2 separate regions of the Homo sapiens genome follow, and region 2 is linked to region 1. The links are contacts of gene promoters, found by promoter capture Hi-C in human tissues and cell types (Jung and others, 2019). All regions are on one chromosome and are shown on one strand. The core of a region is centred on a gene start or on the middle of the fragment in contact, and the rest is flanking DNA. Distances in the headings are between cores, read along the strand shown. Region 1 holds the start of NPPA (natriuretic peptide A). Region 2 has its middle 13 kb from the start of TNFRSF8.

What was found. The method cuts DNA at HindIII sites, captures the fragments that hold promoters and counts their contacts. A contact is called where the count stands out against the background at its distance.
Region 2: a contact is called between a fragment that was not itself captured here and the fragment with the promoter of NPPA in region 1, in 1 of the 25 tissues and cell types used here (spleen).

The regions. Positions count from the first base shown.
Region 1 is chr1:11,846,446-11,849,552 of GRCh38, forward strand. It overlaps NPPA (natriuretic peptide A), which reads right to left and starts at 1,338. Exons shown (of 3, transcript NM_006172.4): 1 at 1,117-1,338; 2 at 668-994. The coding sequence starts at 1,239. It also overlaps NPPA-AS1. RefSeq lists an enhancer at 374-2,164. The HindIII fragment of the contact is 8,124 bases long and covers 1,076-3,107 here.
Region 2 is chr1:12,048,536-12,051,616 of GRCh38, forward strand. No RefSeq gene overlaps it. Among named protein-coding and RNA genes, the nearest start is that of TNFRSF8, 13 kb to the right of the region's middle. The HindIII fragment of the contact is 8,815 bases long and covers 1-3,081 here.

The DNA.
Region 1 (3,107 bases), core at 88-2,587:
AGTAGCTAGGACTTACAGGCGCCTGCCACCACGCCTGGCTAATTTTTTGTATTTTTAGTAGAGACGGGGTTTCACCGTGTTAGCCAGGATGGTCTCCATCTCCTGACCTCGTGATCCACCCGCCTTGGCCTCCCAAAGCGCTGGGATTACAGGCGTGAGCCACCGTGCCTGGCCTTTTTTTTTTTTTTTTGAGACAGTCTCGCTCTATCACCTAGGCTGGACTGCAGTGGCGTGATCTCTGCTCACTGCAACCTCTGCCTCCTGGGTTCAAGTGATTCTCCTGCCTCAGCCTCCCAAGTAGCTGAGAGTACAGGTGCCCGCCACCACACCCAGCTAATTTTTGTATTTTTAGTAGAGCTGGGGTTTCACCATGTTGGCCAGGATAGTCTTGATCTCTTGACCTCATGATCCGCCTGCCTCGGCCTCCCAAAGTGCTGGGATTACAGGCGTGAGCCACTGTGCCCAGCCCCCCCCCCTTTTTTTTTTAAGCATTTTCTCAGCAGACTAGCTAAGGACAATAGATGGCATGTCCTGACACCCATGGGGCACTCTGGGTGTTGGGGCAGAAACTTGAGAGGGAATGAGCTTCTGCATTGGTCCCTTTCCTGCTGAAGGTGTCTCCCAGTAGTGTCCATCCCATCCCATTTCCATCCCCAGTTCCTCTTACCCGGAAGCTGTTACAGCCCAGTCCGCTCTGGGCTCCAATCCTGTCCATCCTGCCCCCGAAGCAGCTGGATCTCCGCAGGCTCCGAGGGGCAGTGAGCAGCGCCCTCAGCTTGCTTTTTAGGAGGGCAGATCGATCAGAGGAGTCCCAGGGGCCCCGCCCGAGGGCACCTCCATCTCTCTGGGCTGGGCTGACTTCCCCGGTCCAGGGAGGCACCTCAGGGAGGGGGCTGAGAGCAGCCCCCGCTTCTTCATTCGGCTCACTGAGCACTTGTGGGGGCACGACCTCATCTTCTAAAGGCATCTTTTCTTCCAAATGGTCCAGCAAATTCTTTAGAAAAGGAAAATACAGGGAAAGGGATAAACCTCACTGACTTGGAGGAAATCAAGAGGAGTGAGCACAGCATCAGAAAGCCCCCTGGCCCCAGACTGCACCCGCTTTCCTGGCCCTACCTTGAAATCCATCAGGTCTGCGTTGGACACGGCATTGTACATGGGATTAGCTCTGGTCTGACCTAGGAGCTGGAATGCCAGTAAAAGGAGGAAGCTCACGGTGGTGGTGGAGAAGGAGCTCATGCTGGCGTCGTCAAGGAGCAATCCACTGCTTGCTGCTCTGTCTCTCCCCTCTGGTTCCTCTCTGGTTCCCCTCTCTTGGCCTACGTCTGTCCCTGTCTCCCAGCTGCCCAGTGCCGCCTCTTTTTATAGCCCCCCAGCTCTCCAAGCACGCAGGAGAGACAGAACCCTCCCCATTCTGTCACTTGCAGTGATAAAGCTGCCAAGTGAGAAGCCAGCAGGAGATGCCCTTTTAAAGTTATCATCCCGCAGGGCTTGTCACAGCCCCTCTCTGCCTTGGGCAGCCCCAACAGCCCCCCAGACCCTCAGCTGCAAGAGCCGCATTCTTACTGATTTGACTCAAGAGGCTCCCACTTCAAAGGTGTGAGAAGAGTAAAAAAGAGTCCTTGGTTATCTCACCGCCGTGCCTCAGGATTCTTTCTCCTCGACGCTGGTACCCGTGCGGGGAAACAGAGGGTGACGCTTGGCTGGTGCCCAGCTCCCCTGGTTTGTTTGTGGCTCAGCTGTCAGGGCCTCCAAATAAGGGTGGAGAGGAGGAAATGGCAGGCAGCCAGCAGCCCGAGACAAATGGATCCAGATGCTCAAGCTGGCCTCACACCTGCCTCATCCGCCACGTGGGCAGACCTCTGGCCTCAGACAGGGCTGCCTTCACCCCTGGCAGTCCCTCTCCATGGTCAGGCGAAAGGAAGTTATTTTTTAGTATATAAAGTCAGCTGAGAACCAAATGTGATGAAGCTCCCAGGAATCCAACCCCCAAATAGAAATAGCAAGAAAAGGCGGGGGAGCACAAGCATCCTCTCTCCAAAGCTCCTCCTCTTCCATGTCCCCCGCGACCCTCCTCCAGCATGCTGCGGGGACAGGCTTAGAGGACGCAGCCAATTTCATTTCTTCCGTTGCTGTTTATAGATGCTCAGACTCTTCGTGTCTGAAGTTTGTTAACATCCCCCTGCCCTTCCTGGGCTTGTGCCCGTGGCAACTTGACCGATGGAGGAAGGGAGGTGGGGGTGAAGGAGGTATAGTCAGTTTCCCTCAATGCCTTCTACATCCTTCCCTGAGGACGTGGCAAGTGGCAAGTGACCGAGCCACCAAGGTCACAATTTCCCTGGCCCCCAAAAGGGAAATAACAGGCAGCAAGTCTGTCTATGTTTAATGAATGGCCTGTTTGCTAAGCACTGAACTCAGTGTTAGCCATTACCATTCAATGCAACGTATACTGGGGGAAAACTCTAAATTTGAAGGGCTGAGAGACCAGTACTGTAGCCCAAAACAAACCAGTTGCATACCTCTTCGCAGCCTTACTTTCCTTGTGTGTAAAATGAGAAAGAATGTTAAAAACCGGCCGGGTGCAGTGGCTCACACGTATAATCCCAGCACTTTGGGAGGCTAAGGTGGGTGGATCACCTGAGGCCAGGAGTTTGAGACCAGCCCTACCAACATGGCAAAACTCTGTCTCTACTAAAAATATAAAAATTAGCTGGGTGTGGTGGCATGTGCCTGTAATCCCCGCTACTAGGGAGGCTGAGGTAAAAGAATTGCTTGACCTTGGGAGGCGGAGGTTGTAGTGAACCAAGATCGCACCACTGCACTCTAGCCTGGGCAACAGAGTGGGACTCGGTCTCAAAAAATAAATAAATAAATGAATGAATAAAGTAGAAATCTTCCCTGCCTACCTTGCAGGATTGTTGTGGAGCCCAAGTGAGCTGAGAACGTGTCAACACATAACAAGTGTGCAGTGCTGAGTCCCTGCAAGATGGCCATCATAGTTGTCTTTATTGGTTGCTTGTAGCATGCCTAGCACTGTGCTGAGAACTTTATGGAAATGATTTTATTTTGATCACCATCCCCAGGTGGTAGATAGCATTGTCCTTGCT
Region 2 (3,081 bases), core at 521-3,020, 200 kb after region 1:
CCTTCCAAGTTCTCTGGAGTTGAGCCCAGGCACAGAGGACACGGTTATTCATTGAAACAGTAGGACATGTTGCTTTTTTCTTTTTTCTATGTGACTTTGGACAAGTTGCCTCACAACTCAACTTCATCTCTTTCTAAGCCTCCTTGTGGATATGGGAAATAAATGAACTCATGTGGAGAAGAGCCGTTATGGACTGAACTGTGCCTGCTTCTCCCTGCCAAGTTCATGCCCCCCAAATTCATAGGTTGAAGCCCTAACCCCCAATGAGACAGGGCCTCTTTTTGGTTTTTGTTTTCATTTTTGTTTTTGTTTTTTTAAGACGAAGTCTTTCTCTGTCATCCAGGCTGGAGTGCAGTGGCATGATCTCGGCTCACTGCAACCTCCGCCTCCCGGGTTCAAATGATTCTCCTGCCTTGACCTCCCCAGAAGCTGGGATTATAGGCACGTGCCAACAAGCCCGGCTAATGTTTGTATTTTTAGTAGAGACAGGGTTTCACCATGTTGGTCAGGGTGGTCTCAAACTCCTGACCTTGTGATCCGCCCGCCTCGGCCTCCCAAAGTGTTGGGATTACAGGCGTGAGCCACCGCGCCTGGCCAAGACAGGACCTTTAAAAAGGTAATTAAGGTTAAGCGAGGTCCTAAGGGTGGGGCTTTCAGCTAATGGGATTATCACACTCCTAAGAAGAGAAAAGGACACCAGGAATGCACACGCAGAGAAAAGGCCCCTCAAGGACATAGCAAGAAGGTGATGTCCTCAAGTCAAGGAGCGAGACCTGAGGAAAAAGCAAATCTGCTGACACCTTACTCTCAGATTCACAGCCTTGAGAATGATAAGAAAATAAATTTCTGGGCTGGGCGTGGTGGCTCACTCCTGTAATCCCAGCACTTTGGGAGGCCAAGGCGGGTGGATCACCTGAGGTCAGGAGTTTGAGACCAGCCTGGCAACATGGTAAAACCCCGTCTCTACTAAAAATACAAAAATTAGCCAGGTGTGGTGGCACATGCCTGTAATCCTAGCTACTCGGGAGGCTGAGGCAGGATAATTGCTTGAACCCGGGAGACAGAAGCTGCAGTGAGCAAAGATTGTGCCATTGCACTCCAGCCTGGGTGACAAGAGTGAGACTTTGTCTCGAAAGAAAAAAAAAAAAGGAAATAAATTTCTGTTGCTTAAGCCCTCCAACGTGTGTTGTTCTGTTATACTCAGCCCTAGTGGACTAATACAGGGACTGCTATTGCAATGGCTGGTAGGCACCTAGGAGCTGCTGATCAATGATAGCCATGATTATTGTTTGCATAGCAAACAGTCTTGGAAGCTGGAGGTAGCATCTCCCACTGGGCTAGCGAGCAAATGTATTTACTTTCCAGGACAGTAAGGACTCCCTCCCGTCCCCTAGGGAGATGGCTATTCCAGGGTGATAAAGACAATGTCTTCTCAGGACAGAGGTTGAATAGGTTTGCCAGCAGCCCCTAATGAGATTGGGGGTCTCCCATGGTGTGTGCTCAGCACCAGCCTGGGCTGGTTCCTCACCCTACGTGAAGGGATGTTAAGGGCAAGGGCAAGGGCAAGCAATGCAAATTCAGTGCTCATGCTATGTGCAGGGCTGCAGGTAGTAGACCCTCATTTTATTTTTTCTAGACAGGGTCTTGCTGTGTCACCCAGGCTGGAGGGCAGTGGTGCGATCATGGCTCACTACAGCCTCGACCTCCTGGGCTCAGGCCGTCCTCCCACCTCAGTCCCCCGAGTAGCTGGGACTACAGGAGTATGCCACCACACCCGGCTAATTTTTTTTTTTTTTTTTTGTAGAGATGAGGAGTCTCACTTTGTTGCCCAGGATGGGCAGCTCCTGGGCTCAAGGGATCTGCCCACCTTGGCCTCCCAAATTGCTGGGATTATAGGCATGAGCCACCCTGCCCGGCCAGTAGTAAACCCTTTAAATCTAGCTGGGCTCATTGTCTCCTTAGCATCTGAATCTATCAGAATGTGGCAAGCCGAACTAATTGCTTGAAAAATTATTATTATTTTGAGACTGAATCTCTCTCTATTGCCCAGGCCGGAGTGCAGTGGCACAATCTCGGCTCACTGCAACCTCTGCCTCCCAGGTTCAAGCAATTCTCCTGCCTCAGCCTCCTGATTAGCTGGGAATACAGGTGCCCACCACCACACCCAGCTAATTTTTTTATATTTTTATTAGAAACGGCGTTTCACCATGTTGGCCAGGCTGGTTTCAAACTCCTGACCTTAAGTAATCCACCTGCCTCAGCCTCCCAAAGTGCTAGGATTACAGGGGTAAGCCACCGTGCCCAGCCTATTATTATTTTTAATTTGAGATGGTTATATTCTTTTTTTTTTTTTTGAGATGGAGTCTCGCTCTGCAGTGGCGCAATCTCAGCTCACTGCAACCTCTGCCTCCTGGGTTCAAGCGATTCTCCTGCCTCAGCCTCCCGATTAGCTGGGATTACAGGCACCCACCACCACTCCCAGCTAATTTTTTTTTTTGCATTTTTAGTAGAGACGGGGTTTCACCATGTTGGCAAGGCTGGTCTCGAACTCCTGACCTTAAGTGATCAGCCCGCCTCGGCCTCCCAAAGTGCTGGGATTACAGGCGTGAACCACTGTGCCCGGCCTGCTCTATTTATTAATTCAATAAATATTTATTATGCCAAGCCCTGGTAATAAAGCATTGAGAAACTAGCATTGAGAAACTCCCTGCCCTCAGGGAGCTTGCCTTCTCAAGTCCAGAGCCTCCAGGGGGCTGCGTGAACCAGGTGCAAATACAGTGAGGCTTTGTGCTCCGGCATCTGAGGCCCAGGAGACCTGGGGGCCTGGAGGCAAAATGGTGGCCTCATTTGTCCTGTGGCCGGGCCCTGACTAGATGGCCACAAATTTAGAATAGATCCCTGTCTTTGTGGTATTATAGCTGGGTATCCTGGAGCTTCCTGTGCCAAGCATTTAGCATCTCAGATCTTTGCATAAGTCTGTGATGTCAGTGCCATTGTTATTTCCATTTGATGGATAAGAAAGGCAAGGCCCAGGGTGGTTAACCAGCTGGCTCCAAGTTGCTCAGCTGTGGCTGCAGTAAG